7 separate regions of the Homo sapiens genome follow, and regions 2, 3, 4, 5, 6 and 7 are each linked to region 1. Evidence: promoter capture Hi-C in 16 types of primary human blood cells and fetal thymus (Javierre and others, 2016). All regions are on one chromosome and are shown on one strand. Each heading gives the region's core, a stretch centred on a gene start or on the middle of the fragment in contact. The rest is flanking DNA. Distances are from core to core; before and after follow the strand shown. Region 1 holds the start of RNF41 (ring finger protein 41). Region 2 overlaps GDF11 (growth differentiation factor 11). Region 3 overlaps RBMS2 (RNA binding motif single stranded interacting protein 2). Region 4 overlaps RBMS2 (RNA binding motif single stranded interacting protein 2). Region 5 has its middle 7.7 kb from the start of SNORA105C. Region 6 overlaps PMEL (premelanosome protein). Region 7 holds the start of GLS2 (glutaminase 2).

What was found. Contacts are between HindIII fragments. The CHiCAGO score rates a contact against its expected background, and 5 or more counts as called.
Region 2: a contact is called between a fragment that was not itself captured here and the fragment with the promoter of RNF41 in region 1, in 3 of 17 cell types (fetal thymus, naive CD8 T cells and total CD8 T cells). The highest score is 6.6, in fetal thymus.
Region 3: a contact is called between a fragment that was not itself captured here and the fragment with the promoter of RNF41 in region 1, in 1 of 17 cell types (fetal thymus). The highest score is 5.8, in fetal thymus.
Region 4: a fragment that was not itself captured here is called in contact with the fragment with the promoter of RNF41 in region 1 in 4 of 17 cell types (M1 macrophages, erythroblasts, activated CD4 T cells and 1 more); the score reaches 7.4 in M1 macrophages.
Region 5: a contact is called between a fragment that was not itself captured here and the fragment with the promoter of RNF41 in region 1, in 1 of 17 cell types (activated CD4 T cells). The highest score is 6.0, in activated CD4 T cells.
Region 6: a fragment that was not itself captured here is called in contact with the fragment with the promoter of RNF41 in region 1 in 2 of 17 cell types (naive CD4 T cells and activated CD4 T cells); the score reaches 5.4 in naive CD4 T cells.
Region 7: the fragment with the promoter of GLS2 here is called in contact with the fragment with the promoter of RNF41 in region 1 in 1 of 17 cell types (activated CD4 T cells); the score reaches 5.2 in activated CD4 T cells.

What each region holds. Positions count from the first base shown.
Region 1 is chr12:56,220,345-56,223,811 of GRCh38, reverse strand. It overlaps RNF41 (ring finger protein 41), which reads left to right and starts at 1,890. Exons shown (of 7, transcript NM_005785.4): 1 at 1,890-2,052. It also overlaps a transcript of NABP2 not described here. RefSeq lists enhancers at 353-647, 64-997, 1,479-1,698, 998-1,932, 1,919-1,968. The HindIII fragment of the contact is 1,612 bases long and covers 1,399-3,010 here.
Region 2 is chr12:55,746,858-55,750,324 of GRCh38, reverse strand. It overlaps GDF11 (growth differentiation factor 11), which reads right to left. Exons shown (of 3, transcript NM_005811.5): 2 at 1,342-1,739; 3 at 1-823. The coding sequence ends at 443. Among named protein-coding and RNA genes, the nearest start is that of GDF11, 5.5 kb to the right of the region's middle. RefSeq lists enhancers at 2,803-3,306, 3,307-3,467. The HindIII fragment of the contact is 9,248 bases long and covers 1-3,467 here.
Region 3 is chr12:56,591,808-56,595,274 of GRCh38, reverse strand. It overlaps RBMS2 (RNA binding motif single stranded interacting protein 2), which reads right to left. Exons shown (of 14, transcript NM_002898.4): 14 at 1-3,467. Among named protein-coding and RNA genes, the nearest start is that of BAZ2A, 37 kb to the left of the region's middle. The HindIII fragment of the contact is 7,914 bases long and covers 1-3,467 here.
Region 4 is chr12:56,567,935-56,571,401 of GRCh38, reverse strand. RBMS2 (RNA binding motif single stranded interacting protein 2) reads right to left here. Exons shown (of 14, transcript NM_002898.4): 3 at 2,369-2,427; 4 at 1,412-1,503. Among named protein-coding and RNA genes, the nearest start is that of RBMS2, 48 kb to the right of the region's middle. The HindIII fragment of the contact is 2,157 bases long and covers 884-3,040 here.
Region 5 is chr12:56,503,460-56,506,926 of GRCh38, reverse strand. No RefSeq gene overlaps it. Among named protein-coding and RNA genes, the nearest start is that of SNORA105C, 7.7 kb to the left of the region's middle. The HindIII fragment of the contact is 5,999 bases long and covers 1-3,467 here.
Region 6 is chr12:55,955,192-55,958,658 of GRCh38, reverse strand. It overlaps PMEL (premelanosome protein), which reads left to right. Exons shown (of 11, transcript NM_001384361.1): 4 at 52-186; 5 at 575-736; 6 at 988-1,710; 7 at 2,440-2,556; 8 at 2,796-2,880; 9 at 2,990-3,195; 10 at 3,298-3,385. Among named protein-coding and RNA genes, the nearest start is that of PMEL, 9.1 kb to the left of the region's middle. RefSeq lists an enhancer at 1,253-1,754. The HindIII fragment of the contact is 2,620 bases long and covers 163-2,782 here.
Region 7 is chr12:56,486,911-56,490,377 of GRCh38, reverse strand. GLS2 (glutaminase 2) reads left to right here and starts at 2,217. Exons shown (of 18, transcript NM_013267.4): 1 at 2,217-2,441. The coding sequence starts at 2,260. LOC124902944 (a long non-coding RNA gene) reads right to left here. Exons shown (of 2, transcript XR_007063331.1): 1 at 3,426-3,467; 2 at 3,046-3,391. RefSeq lists a silencer at 1,871-2,300 and an enhancer at 2,461-2,680. The HindIII fragment of the contact is 16,217 bases long and covers 1-3,467 here.

The sequences.
Region 1 (3,467 bases), core at 641-3,140:
ATATGTAATTCCATCTTACGAGAAAACGGAAGTTATATTTAAAAAAGTGCCTTGCACACAGTAGGCACACACGGTTTCCTCCCTTTTTATTGCTCTAACCGTTATCTTTGTTCCTGATTTGGGGTTCTCATCTTTAATGCACTACCCAGCTTGGTCAAGGTCTCTGGGAAAAGTGGCATTTACACCAGAGACAAAAGGCAGGCTCACCCTTCTTGGAAGAAATGGAACCTGCGACAAAGAGAGAAACATTGTTAGTCCCTTTTTTTTTTTTTTTTGAAACAGGGTCTCGCTGTGTAACCCAGGCTGGAGTGTAGTGGTGCAATCTTGGCTTACTGCAACCTCCCACCACAGCCTCCGTAGTAGCTGGTACTACAGGTTCGCACTACCACCCTCGGCTAATTTCTGTATTTTTTTTGTAGAGACAGTTTCGCCATGTTTCCCAGGCTGGTCTCGGACTCATGACCTCAAGGGATCCGCCCACCTCGTCCTCCCAAAGTGCTAGGATTACAGGCGTGAGCCGCTGCACCTGGCCATACTACTCTTCCCCGCCCCGCCCCACCGCTCCACCCCGGCAAAGGAGTCTTGCTCTGTCGCCCAGGTTGGAGTGCAGTGGCGCGATCTCGGCTCACTGCAATGCAACCTCTGCCTCCCGGGTTCAAGCGATTCTCCTGTCTCAGCCTCCCGAGTAGCTGGGATTACAGGCGCCCGCCACCACGCCCGGCTACTTTTTTTGTATTTTTAGTAGAGACGGGGTTTCACCACGTTGGCCAGCCTGGGCTCAAACTCCTGACCTCGTGATCCACCAGCCTCGGTCTCCCAAAGTGTTGGGATTAAAGGCATGAACCACCGCGCCCGGCCATACTACTCTTATCTTACTTATCTCAGAGTCCCGCTAGAAGACAGCAGAAAGGAGGCCTGAAACTTTAGTTCCTTTTGGGACCTGTCAAATTGTCCACAAAAGGTAGCTAGCTCTGTATTGTTGTGTATAAACAAATTACATAAAGATATGTGTGTATGTGTGTATTAATGTGCATTAGCATTTGCTTAGCCAATGTCCACAATAAATACCATACTATTTAATACCAGATTAGTCTAGGAAGTCATGTGATTGTAATGCCTTGGTTTGCTTAATTAATCCCTTATCTGCTCACGGAGCTCTTTAGGCTCCACATTGACTTCCCTTGGATCCCACGTTCTCTACCGCCCACATCCCCAACACCACGGTGTTGTAAGCTAAGGAAATCAAACCCCAACTCAGGAAGAGGGAAATTTTTTCTCCCTTCCTTCCTCTTAGGTGTTTCAGGGAACTCCACAAGTGTTCGGGGAGCCATCGTGGATACGGCAGGAGAGCGCCTGGGAGAGAGGCAGACAACCCGTTGAGCACCCCAGATCTAAGCTTTGCGGTCAGACTCCCTCACTCCCCACCCCGCGGCCGCCTTGTTAACTGCAATATCCATTCCCATGACAGGAGTCAAGGGGTTACGAAGCTCTGGGATGCTGACCAGGGCTCTGGAAAAGGGAGAGGGGCCGGACCCGCAGCAGGTCACGCTGCAGGCCTGCCTCTCCGCAATGATCTCGCAACAATCTGCGTCAGCTCTAAGACACAAGTCACCTGCACCCCTCCAAAGCGAAGCGTGGCCGGCCAGGCCCACACGTTTTTGCCGGGAAGAACATAGAGTTCTCCCTCCTAAATGGCTACATAGTCCTGGCTGGGACCATATAGACTCTAGACTAGACTTCCTGTCTAGAGTGGAGGCCTGGCCAGCCTTCGTCCCTCCTCGTAGGCAGCTCCTGGCTGCTGGTGTAGGGGCTGAGTTAAACAAAGAGGCGGGGTTTGGTGACGAGCTTCCGCCGGGTTGCGTAGCAGCGGTGGGCGGGGCAAAGGATCCGTCTGAGGCGGCGACGAGTGGTAGGAGTCTTCTTTCCCCTCCTTCCCCTTTCCCTTCCCTTCCCGGGAGAGGCTGGGACCCGGCACCAGGGCAGTACTGTGGCCGCTGCGGCCTCAGCTCCGACTGGGTCAGGTTGCGGAGACTCCAGGCCGCTTCCAGGGCGGTGCGTACTGCGCCTGCGCGATCTTCCACCTAAAAGAGGGTGTGGGAGGGGAGGAGGTGATGTCCCAGGGGTATTGGGGCGGGGGGTTGAAATAACTGGGGTTCAGGAGGAGGGATGGTGGTAGAGATAAAAATGTGAGAAGGGAGCAGCACTGGCGAGGAGTCGGGAGGTGAGAAGGGGGCTCTGGAGAACGGGTTGTTGGGGAAGGTCCATTGGAATAGGGGAGCTTTGAGAAGTGCGGGAGGGGGCCGGGGCTAGCTGGAGGACCGGCACCTGCAGAACTGGGGGAACAGCGTGGTGTTTAAATGGGCAATGATTGACGGGCCAGAAGGGGAGGAAGGGAGCATTCCGGGGGCCAGCCTGGGCAGGGGCGGTGGAACCTAAACCCCCGCCCTCGAAGCGCCATAGCTTGGCTCCTCTCCCATGCCTTGTCGTTGGCAGCCTTGTCCTCTCATTCCTTCCCCGCTCCTCACCCCCTCCCAGCCCTCCATGAAGGAATCTCACATTCTTCACATCCCTGCGCTTGGTTTGCAGCCTGGCTCTCTGGCAGGGTTCACACACCACACACTGGAAGGCCTTCCCTAACTCAGGACTTTGGGAAATTGGGTAGTGGGGAGGAGGGGGCTAGAGGAAGAGCAGAAAGCCAGGAGGGGTGAAGGCGTTTTGCTTGAGGGATTGACAGACTGCTTCCCCGTTCAGAAACTTCATTTCATTTAATAGCAAGTGGGGCTGTTATTGAGGCCACTGTTCTTGGGGACTGGCCCGTGATAGTGTTATCCCTTTCTATACAGGGGTTTTAGAGTCTGACAATAGGGCAAGAGACTGATAGTGTTGTTGGCTGATAGTTTTGCCCCAAATAAGAATGTAGTGGACTAGTGGTAGGGAATGTGAGTGATGCAATGTTAAGCCGACCGACCTGTGGCTAGCCCTGCCTTCTAGTAAAAAGAAGGAACAAGCTTTTGTCAAGCATTTCCTCTCCGACTCTCAGTACTCTAAATTTATTTTGCATTCTTGTTTTTTTTTTTTTTTGAAACGGAGTCTCACTCTGTCACCCACGCTGGAGTGCAGTGGCACAATCTCGGCTCAGTGCCACCTCTTTCTGGGTTCAAGCGATTCTCCTGCCTCAGCCTCTTGAATAGCTGGGATTACAGGTACCTGCCACCATGCCTGGCTAATTTTTTGTATTTTTAGTTGAGATGGGGTTTCACCATGTTGGCCAGGCTGGTCTCAAACCTCTGACTGTAGCCGGGCGCGGTGGCTCACGCCTGTAATCCTAGCACTTTGGGAGGACGAGGCGGGCGGATTGCCTGAGCTCAAAAGTTCGAGACCAGCCTGGGCAACACAGTGAAACCCCGTCTCTACTAAAAATATAAAAAATTAGCCGGGGCATGGCTGCATGCACCTGTAGTCCCAGC
Region 2 (3,467 bases), core at 590-3,089, 470 kb after region 1:
ATACCAAGCCCCTCACCTTGCCAGTGGAAGAAAGGAGGCTTGGTGTGGGGCTTTCATTTATTACTCCATTTCAGTCTCTTTCTCAGTGTTTTGTCTCTGCCTCGTCTGTCTCTTCTGCCTCTCTCTTTGCCTTCTCACTGCTGCTCTTTTTGTTCCTCTGTCTCTATCACTGTCTCTACATCTCTCTGTCTTTTTGTCAAACCTTCTCATCTGCAAACTTCAAACACTCCCCACCCTGACTATGCCCCTGCTTCCCCTTTCCCCCAAACCCCTCACCCTCAATTCCCACCTGCCTCCCTCTGTTGTATTGCACACGGCTTGGTCGGGGAACGGTGTGATGTTCGCGGGAAGAGTGGAGGGAGCTCTAGGGCTTGGGGGGATGGGGGCAGGGCTAGGGGTCTTGGGGTAGGGTCTGTGGGGGAGGCATCCTCTATCCCCCACCTTAAGAGCAGCCACAGCGATCCACCACCATGCCAGGGATCTTGCCGTAGATAATCTGCTGCTTGTCATTGAAGTAGAGCATGTTGATTGGGGACATCTTGGTGGGGGTACAACAGGGCCCAGCAGAGCCTCTTGGATTGGCCTGCTGCACCAAATGGGTATGCGGATATTTTTGCATGAACATGTACTCGCACTGGCCGGAGCAGTAGTTGGCCTTGTAGCGCTTAGGTGCGATGATCCAGTCCCAGCCGAAAGCCTCAAAGTCCACTGTGAGGGGATATCGGCAGCAGCGGGACTCGCTTGAGTGCTCGTCGCAGTCCAGACCCAGGTTCCGCCGGGAACGTTTTGTGTTCTCTAGGACTCGAAGCTCCATGAATGGATGCTGAGGGTCAGGGAGAGGGGAAAGAAATGTGATATGGTCCTGAACAGTTCCTCTTCCCTGTTCCTTTCCCACCTGCCAGGGGCATCAGAATAGAGACTGCTGACTTCTCAGCTTTTCCATTGCTCCCACCCCCAGAATTTATCTTTTGCCCACTTTTCTTGCCAGCTAGCTAGCTCTCCTTCAACTCACCATCTCTAATTCTTACTCTTCTGGCAACCTGATCCCTGTCAGCCCCTTGGCCCAACGCCTCAACAGCCAGTTTTTTTGTTCTCACAGCTCTTCCATTAACTGACACCTTTACCTTCAAATCCAGTTTTCAGCTGTTGTCTGATTTGGATCCTTGAGAAGTAATAGTTGCCACCCCACTCCTCACCTCCTCCTCTAGAATCAGCTGCTGACCCCAGAGAAGTAATGCTGGTCCCCAACCTCCTTCACATTCCTTGTCTACCTTTTCCAATGTAACCCTATCTCCTCAGGGCCAGGTTACACATATCCACCACCTCAGGCCCCCTGCTCACCAGCCCCTCGGCTCCCGGCCCCAGGGAGGTGACAGCCAGGTCTGTGCCACTGGGATCAAAGGCGTTGATCTCGATGCCCCAGTTGCTCTGTGGCTGGCGGAACCAGCTGTGTAGCACTTGCTTGAAGTCGATGCTCTGCCAATGGCCTGAGCGTGAGTGCAGCTCAATCTTCAGTGAGCGGATACGGATGTGACGCCGGCCTCCGCCCCCTCCCCCTGCGGTCCCTTCCCCAGTTAGGGGTTTTAGTCGCAAGATCTGCAGGTAGACTGTGGCTGGGCGGGGTACAGGCCGTAGGTACACCCACAGCTGGGCCTTCAGTACCTTTGTGAACATCACCTTGGGGCTGAAGTGAAAATGGCAGCAGAGAGGGCTGCCATCTGTCTGTACTGCTGGGTCCGCTGATAAGAGAGAAGGGCACAGCATCAGCAAAGGGTGTTTGTGTAGGGGATCAGTAGTCCTGGGTGGCACTGGCAATTTTGGACTTCTCAGCCTGATTTTCCAGTTCTTCTTTACCCTTCTCCCATGCCTATCTTATACCATGTCTCCGGTACCTAAAACAGCACTTCCTCTTTAGGATGATGGCCCTATAAGGCCTTACTGATCTGTGTCCATTTCCTAATCCATTTGCCCTAATATATAGGTTCCTGTCTACCAGATAACCTGCAAAATTATTCATCCACCACCATCCTTACTGTCCAACTTTTCCCAGCATATAAGGCTCCAACATTTTCTGAATCTTTGAAGCTCTTTATAGAAGCCATACCTCTTATCACACCTGCTGCCCTTCCATCACCTTTCCCCTATCTGCTCTGATTTATCTGCTGGACAGGTAGAGCCTGGCACATCCCTCCCCCACAAAATAACACAGATGGCCTCAGAGAGGGGATAACCCAGGGTCCAGATAGGGAGCATGAGCTAAATTTATCCCATTATGTAAACCAGAATTCAGATCTAGGCTTCTTGCCTCACTCCCATTAGGAATAACACCCAGCAAAATGGAACTATCCAAGCACTTCCTATACATCTGTCTCCCCATTCTCTCTTAAGAAGTTTCTTCAGCTGCTGCTCCATCATCATCACCATGACTGCCCCCAGCTCTTGAGGAAAGGAATAATTACCTCCATGGTGTTGCCTCCTATTTGCCTAAAGCACCAGAAATAATATTAAATACACCAGATTAACTACAATGCCTTTTTTCTCCCCTGAGCTTCCTTTGACTTCTCAGTCTAGTGCCAGTAGGTCTTTACAAAGTTTGAACATCCCAACTTTACATTTTGACCCATTTCCCCTTGCTCTGGACCTTAAATTGATCCTTCTTGGGTCTAATAGATGATTCTCAATAAATATCTGCCTCTGCCTCCATTCCAGCTCCTCTTCACTGCCTTTCCTAAGTCAGTTGGGAGTGTCCTACAACATGTCTCCATTGGACAGAATATGTCTATCCTGACTCTAGATAGGAAGAATCAGGAATGAGCTTCCAGAGCCATATAAGCAGGGTTAGGAAGTCTAGGCCTTTAAGTATCCTCCCCATGTCTTGAGTTCTGCAAAATCAGGATGGACTTAGGGTGTCCTGTCAGCTCTTCCCCACCCCCACCCTGGGAGAAAGAGGACCTTCTAAGGGAGATGAGGAGAAAGTGCTTAATGAACTTCATATATTCAGGATATGATACCCAAAGTCTCTATAGCTTTTTTTTTTCTTGATTATTCTCTGAGGTCCCAGGGCCCTGGTAGTCCAGTTATTTTACTGGCTGGAGCTTCAGTGATGGTGCAATGGAGTAGGGTTTGGGGGGTGAGAATTCAGAGATCAGAAGTAGCTGGGATAGGGAAGCTACTAGTGAGATGGGGAGTGACAAGCAACATCCCAAATAGCATACTTTACAAATTTCAGCATAAGAATTGTCTATTTTCTTGCCATTAGGTACTAATCTCCATGAGAGTGGACACTGTTGTTATTCATACTGTGTCTGTTTTGCTCACCATTGTAGCTTCAGTGCCTCCCATAGTGCTAGACAGCACTCAATAAATACATGGTGAATGAACTCCCTAAACTCCCAATCTTAAATTATACAGGCAAGTGCCTGAAAGTTCTTCCTGGCATCTAAATTCTGTTCTTTGGCTATAATTGA
Region 3 (3,467 bases), core at 660-3,159, 370 kb before region 1:
TGCAACCCCCTAAACTGTATGTTAAGGTAGAAAAGGAACATTCGCTTCCAGCCTTATAAAAATGACAGACTCCCTCTTTGGTGTTTGGTTACCTTCACAGCTATACGCCAGCCACTGAGCAGCTTTCTTGTCCTCTTAAGTTCTAAACTCTGCTCCTATGCTGGTGTCCTCCAACCATTACTTATTACCCTAAGCCGTCACTGCACAGCCTACTCCCCTGGCCTATCACAGCAGGACCTATCTGGAGAGTTCACACTATTCTAGGGCGATCAGTGAGCTAAAAATCCCAGAGAAAACACTGTAGGAATAGAAATTCCCAAGTTTAATTCCCAAGAGTTTAAAAATTATGAGCCTTTTCTAGCCCCCACCTTCCCAACCCTCAGAGAAGGACAGTAAAGAAATCAGTGAATCCAGGTATTTACCTGTTGTTGAATTGTGAGGTTGTGAGGTAGACGTGTAACAAGGACAAGGAAGTTTGGGGATCTGCTTGGAGAATGAAGGTTTATTCAAAACAAGTGGACAGGTCAGGGGTAACGGGTGATGAGGGCACCTGGCTTTTGTAATCATGTGGGGACTGTCCCCTGGGAGGTGCAGCAAAAATCAGAACGGAGACAGAAGCTCACAGTCTGGTTTTAGCTGCCAACTCCTATGGAAGTCCATAGCTGACTCCTATGGAAGGCCTACCAAATGAGGAAATTTCAGGAATTTGCTAATGCGTGGGAGGATTGAAAATGTAGGCAGCACAGAAATAGAGTAGTTGGTTTAAACGGGAATCAGGAAGGATTGGTATAACAAGGCACAAGATTTGGAATTTACCCTTTACAGACTGGCTTTTATAACACCCACCCTCGTCTCTGAAGCCTGCTGATTCAGGGCTAGCAGAGCCTAGGGGCAAGTTTGGGCCAGATCACCCACCCAGTTTATTGCCCTTGGCTAAGAATGCAAAGCCCCTCATGAGCGCAATGCTGCCACTTGCCCAGAAGGTGGGGCATGTGCACAAGGCAGCAGCAATAGTTCTTTTCTAGAAGACTAATAGCCACTGCTACTAGGGATTCCTAGGACATTCCAGCAAGGCCTCTCACAGCATCATATGACGCAAAGTAACAGCCCACGGGTTGACATTGGAGTGACAGGCCTCAACTCCCAATGGGTTGACATTGGAGTGACAGGAGTAGGCACTGGAGGCACTAAGGGAGGGTGAGTGAGCTGATTGTCAAGTTAGGAAAGGAAAACGAATGGAGTGGAGCTGAAGTGGCCCAACCCAGCGCATGGCCTGTGAAGCAGCAAAGTCTGGTCTTCATCTTCAATATGAGTAATGTCCTCTTACCACTCCTTATCTGTTACTGACAAGGTCTATTACCCTTTAGAGCCACCAGGCTTCCTGGCCTGGGCAACTCTACAAATTCTTTAGTTAAAAACACTACAAAGGGCCGGGTGCAGTGGCTCACGCCTGTAATCCCAGCACTTTGGGAGGCCAAGGCAGGTGGATCATTTGAGCCCAGGAGTTCAACACCAGCCTGGGCAATGTGGCAAAACCCTGTCTCTACTAAAAATACAAAAATTAGCCAGGCATGGTGGCAGGCACCTGTAATCCCAGCTACTCAGGAGGCTGAGGCAGGAGAACTGCTTGAACCCAGGAGATGGAGGTTTCAGTGAGCCAAGATCACGCCACTGCACTCCAGCCTGGGCGACAGAGCGAGACTCCGTCTCAAAGAAAAAATAAAAATAAAAAAACTGAAAAGGCCAGGTGTGGTGGCTCATGCCTATAATCCCAGCACTTTGGGAGGCCGAGGTGGGTGGATCATTTGAGCCCAGGAGTTCGAGACGAGGCTGGGCAACATGGCGAAAACCTGTCTCTATTAAAAATACAAAAATTAGCTGTTTGGAGGTCAGGAGTTGGACACTAGCCTGGCCAACGTGGTAAAACCCCATCTCTACTAAAAATAAAAAAATTAGCCAGGCATGGTGGCACAAGCCCATAGTCCCAGCTACTTGGTGGCCGGGGAAGGGGTGGCTGAGGCAAGAGGATCACCTGAGCCTTGGGAGGTCGAGGCTGCAGTGAGCCATTATGGTGCCACTGCACTCCAGCCTGGGCCACAGAGTGAGACCCTGTCTCAAAAAAACAAAACAACAAAACCAAAAAACCAAAAACATTAAAAACAACATCTCATCCAAGCATGGAGGCTCACACCTGTAATCATAGCACTTTGGGAGGCTGAGGTGGGAGGCTCACTTGACAGGAGTTCAAGACCAGTCTGGGCAACATAGTAAGACCCCTGTCTCTACAAAAACTTAAAATAACGAACTGGGCTTGGTAGTATGTGCCTGTACTTCCAGCTACTTGGGAGGCTTAGGTGGGAAGAACCCTTGGGCCCAGGAATTCAAGACTGTAGTAGACTACGACTGCATCACTGCACTCCAGCCTGGGTGACACAGCAAGACCATCTCTAAAAAATAAAATAAAGGCCGGGCGCGGTGGCTCACGCCTGTAATCCCAGCACTTTGGGAGGCTAAGGCGGGCAGATCACCTGAGGTCAGGAGTTCGAGACCAGCCTGGCCAACATGGTGAAACCCCATCTCTACTAAAAATAAAAAAATTAGCCGGGCATGGTGGTGGGTGCCTGTAATCCCAGCTACATGGGAGGCTGAGGCAGGAGAATTGCTTGAACCTGGGAGGCGGAGGTTGCAGTGAGCCGAGATCGTGCCATTGCACTCCAGCCTGGGCGACAGAGCAAGACTCTGTCTGAAAAAATAAAATAAAATAAAAACATCTCTCTCCATCATCATCTCCACATCTTCCTGACCTCTCTACTGGCACCCTCCTCCAAAAAGTCCAATCAGTTTAGGGTCTGAGTATCATCTCAGAGCCTGAGATGAGGAGTAATAACACCGATAGGAGATGGCTAGGCAGGCTCAGAGCCTATAAAGGATTATGCCATCTGAGGAAAGGACTCTAGTGTGTTCTAGCTGACTGAAAACAGAAAAATGCCAAGTACTAAAATATTTTAAGAATGTTATGAGCATCTGTAATGAGTGGGGGTGAGATGTAAAGTACAAAGAGAGTAAGAGCTGGGCTCCATGAAGACAGCATTCAGAAAACACTAGGCATAGTGTTTAAGAGCCCAACCCTTGGCTGTGAGCTGGAAGGCTCCCCTATGTTTCCTTCTGCCATCAACCCAACCAATTAGACTATTTCATGGGAGAAACAGTATCCCTCCTTTCTTCTCCCTCCTTTCCTCCAAACACTCACCCACTGTTACAAATGAACTAACAATTAGGAGAGGAAATGAGTGTAAACCAAATGCACCAAAAAAGAAATTCCTCAGTGCCATTAGCCACTGCAAAATAACTTCAGGCCCCCATCACTTCCCATGCCCAAACCAGAAACACTCATTAATACAATCTAACAAGTAGATTCACATGAGAAGAACTCCAAAAGGTAAATTCAAAATTCAAAACAAAAAATT
Region 4 (3,467 bases), core at 713-3,212, 350 kb before region 1:
GCCGGTCCCAGAGGCTGGATTCCCTCAGACTGCCTTGCTCCTTGGCTGGCTTGTTTTGAGCAGCCCCTCCCCACTTCTCTTCCAGCCACGCAGAATCCTCTAAGTAGGAATGCCTGTTCACTCCCTGATGGAGGAAGAGCAGGAGGAGGGGAGAAGGGAACAGGGAGAGAGCCAGATGCAGAGTTCACTGTGTCACCACGGAGCCCTGAAAGCTACAGTCTCCTAGGACCCTGAAGGCTCCTAAACCTTTGAGCTTTTGTCAGAGGGTTTTACTCCTGGAAGAAGAGGTAGGAGAGCCCTTCCAGGGGACAGAATGTGCAAAATGGCAATATCATCCAATAGTTGTATTTTTAAGAATTTAAGCAGTCACTCTGCCCTAAACAGTGGTCACCAGCAACCTTAATCCTCTTCTGCCTTTTCCTTTTGTTTTCCTTTTCTTTAACCATTACAGAAAAGGTGTCTAGCAGGCCTGCCTCACAAGCTCTATGTATAATACTCATAACAGCTTCAGAAAGGCAAAGGGACAGCCAGGCGTGGTGGCTCATGCCTGTAATCCCAGCACTTTGGAAGGCTGAGGTGGGCGGATCACAACGTCAGGAGATCGAGACCATCCTGGCTAACACGGTGAAACCCTGTCTCTACTAAAAATACAAAAAATTAGCTGGAGGTGATGGCGGGTGCCTGTAGTCCCAGCTACTTGGGAGGCTGAGGCAGGAGAATGGCGTGAAGCCGGGAGGTGCAGCTTGCAGTGAGCCGAGATTGCGCCACTGCACTCCAGCCGGGGCGACAGAGCGAGACGCTGTCTCAAAATAAATAAATAAATAAAATAAAATAGAAAGGCAAGGAGACAATCCCACCTAACAGAAGAAGTGAGAGAAAAGCTTCTAGATTTCTAGTAGTCTAGGTGAAGACAACAGTTTCAGACAGATCTGAGAAGAGACAGTTTCCTCCCTTGATGTGGCTTCCCTCCTGCCTCCCCAGCCCACTACCCAGCCCGTATGGGGAACAACATTAGGAGGTGGAGAGCATTGTTCTGAAATTCTGAGTTGCACAATTGACTTGTTCAGAGAATGTTGCAAAACCACCACAAGCTGTCTGGTAGGGAAGTGGGGCCAGGGTGAATAATATAGGGAACACGGGGAAGCAGCAGGAGTACCGGAAGAGGCCACCTTACCTTTCTTGCTGCCAATAACTTGGTGAAAGGAAGAGAGCTGATAGAGCTACCTGCCATAGACTTTGAATACATCTTCCTCCAGCAGCCAGGGGTGCTCATGGACTGTCTAGAAAGCACCACGGATAGCCCTTGCCCACTCAATTTCATGGTTCTTAAGCCCTCTGGAAACCTTAGAACTGGAACTTTGGTGCTAACCACAAACCCCTTGGAGGAACAGACATGGGGTAGTACCCTTACCTTTGCCATCTGTGCCTGTACACCGCTGGCCTTCAGTGCTGTTACAGCTTTCTGTGCTGCTGAAGGGCTGTCAAAATCTACAAAGCCATAGCCTGGAACAGAGGAAACAGCATCACTAGGAAGTGGGAGGTGTAAGGAACAGAGAGGTCCAGGCTTTTCAGGAGACAGAGGAAGAGTTATGATCCATGTAACAGAAATGGGAGGGAGAAAGAGCTATTGAGAGGTTTCAGGTAGTTATCCACATGCTCCTCAAACCCTGAGATGTGATCTACTTTGTGGCTAAGAATGCCAAGGCAATGAGCTACTCTGGTGTCCCTGCCCTTCTCCCTCCCCCTTAAGAAATTTGAGGTTTCAGGAACTAGGCTCTGCTAATAACCCAAAGCCCCCCTACACCTCTAAAAGAATTCACTCCCCTCTTTTCTTGATATACCCCAGAAATGCTAGGCATGTAGGGAATGCAGCCTCTCCAGAGCAGACCACCAGCCACCTGCTGGAAGAAGACCCTCACCACCCCAGCTTATAGCCCTTTCTCTTCCTTCCACTCTTCCAGCTCTATCTAGAACTGCTCAAAACCCCAATAAAACTACTCACCCTCAGAAAATAACACCCACCAAAACACTCCCCAAAAAAGGCATTTACATGACTTTGCTAAGCAGAAGAAAATCTCACTTACCCACTTCTACCACCTCATCCAGGGAAATACAAAGTCCAAAATAAGCTCAGTAGACTCAAAGGTGTTTTGTACAGTCTTCTGGCCTTGGGGCCCCTAAACAGCATTTTCAGCTCTAGCTATCTGGTCACCAAAGAATCTAAATATCTCCTAATCTTTTAAGCCTAAAAACTTCAGGGACTTCTCGCTGACACTGTAGACTCAGGACTCTCAGCAGTAAAGGGCAGTGTCAAGGGATGGCCTCACTTACTGGTGCTCTCCAACACCAAGGACAGTTGTTCTCTCACCTTTACATTTGTTTGTGGTCTTGTCCAGTATGGCCTTAGTGGAAACAATCTTGCCATATCTAAGGGAGAGGAAAATGCAAAGTAATAATCTGGGGGGCAGAGACTAAGAATAGGACAGAGATTCAGACATCTCAACAAATCCATGCCCTTTCCATGATCTAACTTTTCCTACTCAAACCTTCATAAAAATAAAAAAGAAACGGGGGCCGGGTGCAGTAGCTCACACCTGTAATCCCAGAATTTTGGGAGGCCGAGGCTGGAGGATCACTTGAGGTCAGGAGTTTGAGGCCAGCCTGGCCAACATGATGAAGCCTCATCTCTACTAAAAATACAAAAATTAGCTGGGCGTCACGCCAGTAGTCCCAGCTACTTGGGAGGCTGAGGTAGGAGAATTGCTTGAACCTGTGAGGTGGAGGTTGCAGTGAGCCAAGATGGCACCACTGCATTCCAGATTGGATGACAGAGCGACACTACATCTCAAAAAAAAAAAAAAAGAAAAAAAAGAAATGGGTTAAAAATGCCACACTTAATATAAACCCATCCTCCCCAAAGGTACCTAAAAGAAATAAGGTAACTGTAGTCCCTATAATACCAACACATTTCTCTCTTCTTTCCCAGCTAAGACTCACACACTAGTTGGAAAGAGATGACTGTCTTTTGGGGAAAGAAGCTTGGCAATGTCCACACGAAAGAGTGTGTAGAGGCAGAGCTCTGGCTGGAATTCCCTGAGGACTAAAAAGAATCCTTGCCATTACTTATTTTCTTTTGGAAAACACCACTGATCCTATGAAAAAACTATAGACATTTTTCTTCTCTGATATCCTATTTCCATCACCCCTCCACTGACCCCTTTAATTGAAGGTCAACCTGAGCCAAATTGCTTTGGTTCAAATCCTGGTTCTGCCACTTTTTAGCTATGCGTGATCTTGAACAAGTCATTGAACCTTTTGGTGTCTCAGCCTCATCATCTGTAAAATGGAGATAGGATTGTTAGGACTGTGAATTAATAAACAGAAATCATTAATGTGTACCACATGGTAAGCACTTAAAATTTTTAATTGCTATTATTATATTCAAGGAACCTCAACTTTAATATCTC
Region 5 (3,467 bases), core at 560-3,059, 280 kb before region 1:
AGGCGTGGTGGTGGGCACCTGTAATTTCAGCTACTCAGGAGGCTGAAGCAGTGAATTTCTTGAACTTGGGAGGCAGAGGTTGCAGTAAGCAGAGATCACACCATTGCACTCCTGCCTGGGCGACAGAGTCAGACTCCATCTCAAAAAAAAAAAGATCTTTTTTATATCTTTTTTATTAATCCTTTTAACGTTTAAAAACATCTTATTGGACAACAAGGCCTCCAATAAAATATATAACAGAAGCTGTGATACCAAGCCTGTTCCTGATAAACTCTATCAGGTTTTAGACATTCCTTTTCTTCTTTTCTTTCTTTTTTTTTTTTGAGATGGAGTCTTACTCGGTCGCCAGGCTGGAGTACAGTGGCATGATCTCGGCTCACTGCAACCTCCACCTCCCAGATTCAAGCGATTCTCCTGCTCAGCCTCCCGAGTAGCTGGGACTACAGGCACGTGCCACCACGCCCAGCTAATTTTTGTATTTTTAGTAGAGACGGAGTTTCACCATGTTGGCCAGGATGGTCTCGATCTCTTGACCTCATGATCCACCTGCCTCAGCCTCCCAAAGTGCTGAGATTACAGGTGTGAGTCACTGTGCCCAGCACTTCTTTTCTTTTTGAGACAGAGTTTCCCTCTGTCACCCAGGCTGGAGTGCAGTGGCCACAACCTCGGCTTACTGCAACCTCTGCCTGCCGGGCTCAAGCAATTCTCATGCCTCAGTGTCCTGAGTAGCTAGGATTACAGGTATGCGCCAACGTGCCCAGCTAATTTTTATATTTTTAGTAGAGATGGGGTTTCTCCACGTTGGCCAGCTGGTCTCCAAGTCCTGTCCTCAAGTGATCTGCTGGTCTTGGCCTCCAAAAGTGCTTGGATTATAGGCATATGCCATGATGCCTGGTCTAGACATTCCTTTTCTTGTCTCATTTGCTAAGAGCTTTGAAAATATTTGCTTGAAAGACATTTATCAAATAATTTTTCTACAATGACTTGAGAGGATCATATAGATTTTTCTCTCTTAATCTGTTGATGTGGTGCGACTACATGTTTTCTAATATTACACCATTCTAGCATCTTTGGGATAAACACGACTTTGCCACGTGTGTGTGTTCAATTTTCTAATATTTTATGACTTTTGCATTTATTTCTTTATATAAAATTGGTCTATATCTTACTTTTCTTATACTGTCCTTGTCTAGTTCTGGGTTTAAAGTTTACAATAGCTTCACAAAACAAGTTGTGAAGTGTTCCTTCTCTTTTTATTTCTTGGAAAATCTGTTCTTTGAAGACTGAAGTCTTCAAAGTACTGCCACATAAAAGTACTTCAATAGTACTTCGCATAAAATCTGTATATATTTTTTTCTATGTCAGTATTTAAAGTACAAAATCTCTAATCTCATCAAAATCTCAGTATTTCCCAGCATTCCTACAACACTCTAGAGTTAGTGCCCTCTCCTAGTCTTTACTATAGCTGTTCTAAACATTTACCACTCTAAGTTTTCTACCTCATTATTTCACTCTGCATTCTTAGCATATCATATTTATCTGCTATCTTCAACCTTGATATCTCTACTGGCTTTCCTCCTCCACATGTGGATACATGATGACCTTTTAAAAAGACAAGATAGGGCCAGAAGTGGTGGCTCACCCCTGTAATCCCAGCACTTTGGGAGGCTGAGGTGGGTGGATCATGAAGTCAGGAGTTCGAGACCAGCCTGGCCAGTATGGTGAAATCCCATCTCTACTAAAAATACAAAAATTAGCCGGGCGTGGTGGTGCTCGCCTGTAGTTCCAGCTACTCAAGAGGCTGAGGCAGAAGAATCGCTTGAACCCGGGAGGTGGAGGTTGCAGTGAGCCGAGATGGTGCTACTGCACTCTGGAGCAACAGAGCGAGACTCCGTCTCAAAAAAAAAAATTAAAATTAAAAGAGAGATGAAAACATACATAAAAAACAAATAAACAAAAGCCCTTCCCTGTACCCTATGTTCTTCTGTAGATATTCTTAGTTTTCCCCATAATCAAGAGTAATCTACATTTGCTAACTGTATGTCCTCATCTCTCATTTGTTTTTCTCCACTCACTTTTAATTGTATTCCAAGTTATGTTAGAGTTGGGAAATTACTACTGGGTTATATTTATTTTTTATTTTATTTTATTTTATTTTTTTTGAGACAGAGTCTCGCTCTGTCGCCCAGGCTGGAGTGCAGTGGCGCCATCTAGGCTCACTGCAAGCTCCGCCTCCCAGGTTCATGCCATTCTCCTGCCTCAGCCTCCCGAGTAGCTGGGACTACAGGCGCCCGCCACCACGGCCGGCTAATTTTTTGTATTTTTAGTAGAAACGGGGTTTCACCGTGTTAGCCAGGATGGTCTTGATCTCCTCACCTCGTGATCCGCCCATCTCGGCCTCCCAAAGTGCTGGGATTACAGGTGTGAGCCACCGCGCCTGGCCACTGGGTTATATTTAAAAAGCAACATAATCAGATTTGCATTTCTGCAAGACCACTTGTGGCTATACTGTAACGAATGGAAGGGAGTAAAACTGATGGGAGACCTAAATTAAGAAGCCTCACTAAGATAGTAGCAATGGGAATGAGAAGTGGATGGATTTGAGTCCCATTATCGGATGTAAAGGATATGGAAGCAGGAGAAATAAAGGATCACATGTGAACCTCTAGCTGAACAATGGATTTTTTTGTCATTGTAGAGATGGTAAGTCTCCAGCCTGAGCAACGTGGCAAAACGCTGTCTCTAAAAAAAATACAAAAAATTAGCTGGGCGTGGTGGTGTACACCTGTACTCCCAGCTACCCAGGAGTCTGAGGTGGAAAGATCACCTAACCCCTTGGAGGTCGAGGCTGCAGTAAGCCATGATGGCGCCACTGCACTCCAGCCTGGGTGGCAGAGTGAGACCCGGTCTCAAAAAAAGAAAAAAAAAAGAAGAAAAGAAAAAAGAAAGCTGACCTGACCACATAAAGAGAAAACATTTCTACATGGCAAACAAATCCACAAATGGAAAACCAAAGTCAAATGATAAACTAGCAGGGAGGGGAGAATGTATGCAACTCATTTCATAAAGAGCTAATTTCCAAAAAGTTCCAGCCGGGCGCAGTGGCTCACGCCTGTAATCCCAGCACTTTGGGAGGCCAAGGCGGGTGGATCACGAGGTGAGGAGATCGAGATCATCCTGGCTAACACGGTGAAACCCCGTCTCTACTAAAAATACAAAAAAAAAAAAAAAAATAGTCGGGCGTGGTGGTGGGCGCCTGGAGTCCCAGCTACTCGGGAGGCTGAGGCAGGAGAATGGCGTGAACCCGGGAGGCGGAGCTTGCAGTGAGCCGAGATCGTACCACTGCACTCCAGCCTGGGCGACAGAGTGAGACTCCGTCTAAAAAAAAAAAAAAAAAAGAAAAAGAAAAAGAAAAGTTCCTAAAAACACATATTAAAAGCCTAATATCTGGCCAGGCACAGTGGCTC
Region 6 (3,467 bases), core at 223-2,722, 260 kb after region 1:
ATACAAAAAAGAATGCCAGGGTTTGAGAGTGACTCTGTATTTATCTTTCAGGGAGCCAGGTGTGGGGAGGACAGCCAGTGTATCCCCAGGAAACTGACGATGCCTGCATCTTCCCTGATGGTGGACCTTGCCCATCTGGCTCTTGGTCTCAGAAGAGAAGCTTTGTTTATGTCTGGAAGACCTGGGGTGAGGGACTCCCTTCTCAGCCTATCATCCACACTTGTGTTTACTTCTTTCTACCTGATCACCTTTCTTTTGGCCGCCCCTTCCACCTTAACTTCTGTGATTTTCTCTAATCTTCATTTTCCTCTTAGATCTTTTCTCTTTCTTAGCACCTAGCCCCCTTCAACTCTATCATAATTCTTTCTGGCAACTCTTCCTCAATTGTAGTCCTACCCCATGGAATGCCTCATTAGGACCCCTTCCCTGTCCCCCCATATCACAGCCTTCCAAACACCCTCAGAAGTAATCATACTTCCTGACCTCCCATCTCCAGTGCCGTTTCGAAGCCTGTCCCTCAGTCCCCTTTGACCAGTAATCTCTTCTTCCTTGCTTTTCATTCCAAAAACTTCAGGCCAATACTGGCAAGTTCTAGGGGGCCCAGTGTCTGGGCTGAGCATTGGGACAGGCAGGGCAATGCTGGGCACACACACCATGGAAGTGACTGTCTACCATCGCCGGGGATCCCGGAGCTATGTGCCTCTTGCTCATTCCAGCTCAGCCTTCACCATTACTGGTAAGGGTTTAGGAAGGGGCAAGGCCAGTTGTAGGGCAAGAGAAGGCAGGGAGGCTTGGATGGACTGGAAAGGAGAAAGGTGAAATGCTGTGCAAACTTAAAGTAGAAGGGCCAGGAAGACCTAGGCAGAGAAATGTGAGGCTTAGTGCCAGTGAAGGGCCAGCCAGTCAGCTTGGAGTTGGAGGGTGTGGCTGTGAAAGGAGAAGCTGTGGCTCAGGCCTGGTTCTCACCTTTTCTGGCTCCAATCCCAGACCAGGTGCCTTTCTCCGTGAGCGTGTCCCAGTTGCGGGCCTTGGATGGAGGGAACAAGCACTTCCTGAGAAATCAGCCTCTGACCTTTGCCCTCCAGCTCCATGACCCCAGTGGCTATCTGGCTGAAGCTGACCTCTCCTACACCTGGGACTTTGGAGACAGTAGTGGAACCCTGATCTCTCGGGCACTTGTGGTCACTCATACTTACCTGGAGCCTGGCCCAGTCACTGCCCAGGTGGTCCTGCAGGCTGCCATTCCTCTCACCTCCTGTGGCTCCTCCCCAGTTCCAGGCACCACAGATGGGCACAGGCCAACTGCAGAGGCCCCTAACACCACAGCTGGCCAAGTGCCTACTACAGAAGTTGTGGGTACTACACCTGGTCAGGCGCCAACTGCAGAGCCCTCTGGAACCACATCTGTGCAGGTGCCAACCACTGAAGTCATAAGCACTGCACCTGTGCAGATGCCAACTGCAGAGAGCACAGGTATGACACCTGAGAAGGTGCCAGTTTCAGAGGTCATGGGTACCACACTGGCAGAGATGTCAACTCCAGAGGCTACAGGTATGACACCTGCAGAGGTATCAATTGTGGTGCTTTCTGGAACCACAGCTGCACAGGTAACAACTACAGAGTGGGTGGAGACCACAGCTAGAGAGCTACCTATCCCTGAGCCTGAAGGTCCAGATGCCAGCTCAATCATGTCTACGGAAAGTATTACAGGTAAGAGTATCAGTGCGAATGAGGTTCACGGAGGTGGGGTACCCTACTCTACTCTGTAAGTCTTACCCAGGACTCAGATGTTACCCAATCCTTTGCTTAGCACTATGGTCCCCTCAGAGTTCTCACTGGCCTGGCTATAAAGCCCTCCAGTCTCTCTTAATGACATGGAATAGGTCTGGAGTTCAGGAAACCAAGGTCTTCCCCTAGGCCATGAGGAAAGAGCTTGTTGCTTTCTCTACTGCTGAGAACGGTTGGCGAGACCAGGGAACAGACTGTGATCATTTATATAATATTTATAGCTCATTTTCTGTTCAAGCATAAATGCACGAAAATCCTTCCCAGATTCCGAGATCCTGATCCTTCCATTTCCCAACCCTGGATTCCCATCCCAAAGCAAAAAGGGAGGAATGAAACAGTGATGCTTAAATGAGTTAACACACGTTGAATGTCTAGCCTAGGACCTGACATAGTGTGGGGTGTGATAAACATTTGAGGATTTTTTAAAACTCCAATGCCACCCCTAACTGTGACTCTGGAGGAGTCATTTTCTTCTTCTGGGCCTCAGTTTCCTTATCTATAGAATAAGGTTTCCCAGGTCTTATCTGATTCCAAGCCTGTGACTCCAGAATCCAGTAACTCTGGTTCAACCTGAAAAAATGCCTGCTTGGCCTCTGCCTCCAGATGAGTCATCTGTCTCTTGATCTTGCCTCCTTGATCCTCTCCTGCCAGGTTCCCTGGGCCCCCTGCTGGATGGTACAGCCACCTTAAGGCTGGTGAAGAGACAAGTCCCCCTGGATTGTGTTCTGTATCGATATGGTTCCTTTTCCGTCACCCTGGACATTGTCCGTGAGTCTTGCCTACTTTGGTGGCTGATGGAGGCAGCTGTGTGCTACCTAGGGCTGGTCAGTGGAAGCACACCTTGGGAGGAATTACTCACCTAGATAGGAAGAATACCCAAATGCCAGAGTCCTCATTTGAAAGCACAGGGATGGGATTGGTGGAGCAGCCCTGGGGCTTTTCTGTCTCTGGGCTTTTGGGGAGGCCAGGTAGAGGAATCCTAATTTGATAAGCTTGCAACTCTGCAGAGGGTATTGAAAGTGCCGAGATCCTGCAGGCTGTGCCGTCCGGTGAGGGGGATGCATTTGAGCTGACTGTGTCCTGCCAAGGCGGGTGAGTGTCTCACTAGTGTGCTGGTAACTCTTTGGTTGACTGTTTCTCCGCTCTCTGGCATTTAGTGTCCCTTCCCAGATCCCCTTATATATGCTGACACTTCTTCCAGGCTGCCCAAGGAAGCCTGCATGGAGATCTCATCGCCAGGGTGCCAGCCCCCTGCCCAGCGGCTGTGCCAGCCTGTGCTACCCAGCCCAGCCTGCCAGCTGGTTCTGCACCAGATACTGAAGGGTGGCTCGGGGACATACTGCCTCAATGTGTCTCTGGCTGATACCAACAGCCTGGCAGTGGTCAGCACCCAGCTTATCATGCCTGGTAGGTCCTTGGACAAGAGCTAAGATGAGGAAGGGAGTGGATAGAGGGCAGCTGGCAAGCAGCAGACACTGAGTGAAGCAGTGCCTGGGATTCTTCTCACAGGTCAAGAAGCAGGCCTTGGGCAGGTTCCGCTGATCGTGGGCATCTTGCTGGTGTTGATGGCTGTGGTCCTTGCATCTCTGATATATAGGTAAGGGCCTCATCACACAGCTCAGACCCCCTTATCCCTTATTATCACTACTCACTTTTCCTCAAGGGGAGAAGAAACCACC
Region 7 (3,467 bases), core at 968-3,467, 270 kb before region 1:
ATAGGAAAAAAAGGAAGCAAATTACTTCTGGGTAATGTTTAGAAATTCCCTAACAGATGGTATTTTTCTCTTGAATAGATCAAAACGTTTCAGATAAATCATATTTCTATGAAACAAGGATAAGATTCGTCTGTTACGTATGAAAAAAACTAATGCAGGATTGAGTTTACGTTAAGTATTGAGACCCAGAACTCTGCCTCTTGGGCAAAGCCAAGCATAAAGCAGCAAGCCCTCCCAGAATTAGACGGCTTTCCACGGACAGGAGAACAGATACAGCAGACACAGAATGACTACAGAAGGCGAAAACAAGCAAAAACAAATGTCACTCCATCTGGTTTTAAGCCAAATAAGCCCTCCAACCCTAACCAAGGCAAAGGAGAACTGCCTTTCCACAGAACACACCTGACTGGTTTCAGTACTTGTTTTCCCACGAGTACCCTTGAAACTCATTTTAATCCAAAAATGAAAACTATGGGACAAGCACGGTGGCTCATGCCTGTAATCCCAGCACTTGTGGGAGGCTGAGGCGGGCGGATCATCTGAGGTCAGGAGTTTGAGACCAGCCTGACCGATATGGCGAAACCACATCTTTACTAAATACAAAAAATTAGCTGGGCGAGGTAGCAGGCGCCTGTAATCCCAGCTACTAGGGAGGCTGAGGCAGGAGAATCGCATGAACCCAGGAGGCGGAGGTTGCAGTGAGTCGAGATTGCGCCATTGCACTCCAGCTAGGGCAACAAGAGCAAAACTTCGTCTCAAAAACAAACAAACAAAAACTAGTATTTTGTGATACAGCCAGAACTATCACAAGGAAAAGACTCCCAGTACTGTATCATAATACTTCCACATAAAATACCTCCTTTAGGGATGGGGTCATTTCTCCCGGGATAATTCAATTCAATGCTTAATTTTTGAGAAGGGCTGCATGAAGGAGAGACTTGTAGTTAAAAAAAAAAAACGGGTCTAATTTCTGGTTCTGGTACTTACTAGCTGGGTTACCTTATGCGAGAATTCTTAATTTCCTAGTCTTAGTTTCCTCACCTTCAAATTGAGACTAATAACTACTTTGTAGGTCTCTGGTAAGAGGGAGAGAGAAACTAAGCGGTTGGAACACCATGGGCACTCAATAATAGCTATCATTTACATAATGAGTCCCTACTAAATATGGATGCTGGGTTAGGCGCTGCCGAGATACAAGGTGAAAGTTCTAGCTGCAAATGGCAAAAGTCCTGAATGTTCTTGGATTTCAAAATGCTTTTTGTATATCGCCTCTTTTCTGCCCGTGAGGAGGACAAGGGCAAACAATTAAAATAGGAAAAATGTGGGGAGCACTTCATGGTTTATAAAACGTTTTTCTGCGTGCCAACTTATTTTAATGTCTTAACTTTCCAGATTTGAAAACAAGTCCTACACCAAATAAATGGTAGAGGGACACAAACTGGAACCCAGGCTTCCTAACCGCCAGAGCGACCTTCCCGCCGCCCAATGCCTCCCTGAGGTGCTGGTCGGCTGCTTCTGCCCGGGGTACCCAGCAGTCATCCTACTCTCCACTCAGCACCACCGCACGTCGGCCGCGCGCCACGCTACCCGCCGGGTTACTGGGCGCTGGTTTGGCCTTCGGAGGTCGAGGCTCTCTGAGTGACCTCCTGAACTGGGCTCACTCTTACTTAGCCTCCTCTCTCGAGGCAGCACCCTCCTCTCTACACGACAACTCCATCATTCGCAGCCCCACGGTGTTCCCGGGGAGCGCCTCCCGCCCCCACCGGCTTCGCCTCAGCTTGTCCTCGCCTTTCCCGCCCTCAGCATCCGCGGATACCCGCGCTCGCCGGGCCCACGCGGAAGCATCCGCAGACTGTCGCAAGGTCCCACCGTCTTGCTCTCATTGGGCAACCTTACCCTTTCCCCGCCTCAATGTTTTTGCTTCCTCAGTGATTGGACCTGGGCATTGTCCATTCCAGCTCCCAGGCACCGCCCTCTCTCCACCCACTAGAAAGCCACCCGGGTTCTCCTTCATCCCCAACGCTCCTCACCTAGCCCCTGTCCTGAGGGTGCCCCTAACCCTGGAGCCAGCTTTAAAGGGGCAGGCCCCTTCTCCTGCCCCAGCCCCAGCCCCACCCACCGGGCCCACATTCTCCGTCTTCCAGGTCCAGCGCTCCCTCACAGAACTCCCCCGCACCTTGTCTCGCTCGCTCCGCCCCTCCTTCCCAGCCACAGCTAGAGGTCCCGGGCGCACCTGCAGAGCCGGAGGCTTGCTGGGGCATGCGCTCCATGAAGGCTCTGCAGAAGGCCCTGAGCCGGGCTGGCAGTCACTGCGGGCGAGGAGGCTGGGGTCACCCGAGCCGGAGCCCCCTCCTTGGCGGGGGCGTCCGGCACCACCTCAGTGAGGCCGCGGCGCAGGGCAGAGAGACGCCACACAGCCACCAGCCGCAGCACCAGGATCAGTAAGGCTCCTGGGACAGGGCAGGGGACGGGCTTGCCCCCACTCCCACTGTGGTTCTCGCTAGTTCCCGAGTGCCCTTCCAAGGCAGCGCCGCTCATCTCCCCTCTCCTCGCTCACTAGCCCTCGGTGCCTTTTCCTTTGGATGTGGGGCTTTGGGTGCGCCGCGCTCGGGCGGTAATCTGCCGTCTGCCTAGGAGTGCGTTCGGGCAAGCGGGTCCTGGGGATGGCGCCTGTCCAAGGTGCGCACTTAACCCGGATCACAGATGCGCGCCGAGTGTTGCTTGGCTCACGTGTCTGAGTGCAGGGCCGGGCTCACGCCGCCAGTCCTCACCTTCCCTAGTCCTCGTGTGTATTTTAGGAGATGCGTGGATGTGGAACAGCCTCCTGCCTCCGGTCCAGGTGTACTGGGGTCTGTGTGTTGTGTTTCTGCGTGTTCTCGGCAGGTAATGTGTGATGCGCGTGTATTATTGGTGCGCAGGTACGTCCATAAGTGTTGGGTGTGTGCGTAGCAGTGCTCCCTGAACAGCAGAATGGGGGGGAATTTCCAAACTGGTTGTTGAATGGGGAGAATATTTGTAATGGAGGAAAGGTCTTTAAGACGCAGATTTCCCAAACCAGAGCCAGTCAGAGCCTTTATTTGTGCTGCCCAGGCTCCAGAATCTAAAACGTTCTCTTCCTTTGGGTGTTTCTTCCACCCAGGATGCCAAACCTTTATCTTCCCCACCGCCTAGGACACACTTGGTGGCTGAGCCTTTTTCTCTGAGACCCAGACGGTGCTGAGCAGGAAATCTTGTCCTCCCCAGAGGGCCAGCATAGACACTGTCCAAAGAGCCCCTGCTCTACTGTAGCAGGAACAGGAAATGGGCCATCTCCCTCGTCGCTGCCATCTCCCTGATGACACTCAGAAACATGGACACCATCAGTAAAGTAGCCAGACTGACACAACACTACCTCACCACTACTCGAGTCTCTGACACAACACTACCTCACCACTACTCGAGTCTCTGTCGTAAGGGACACCAATAGG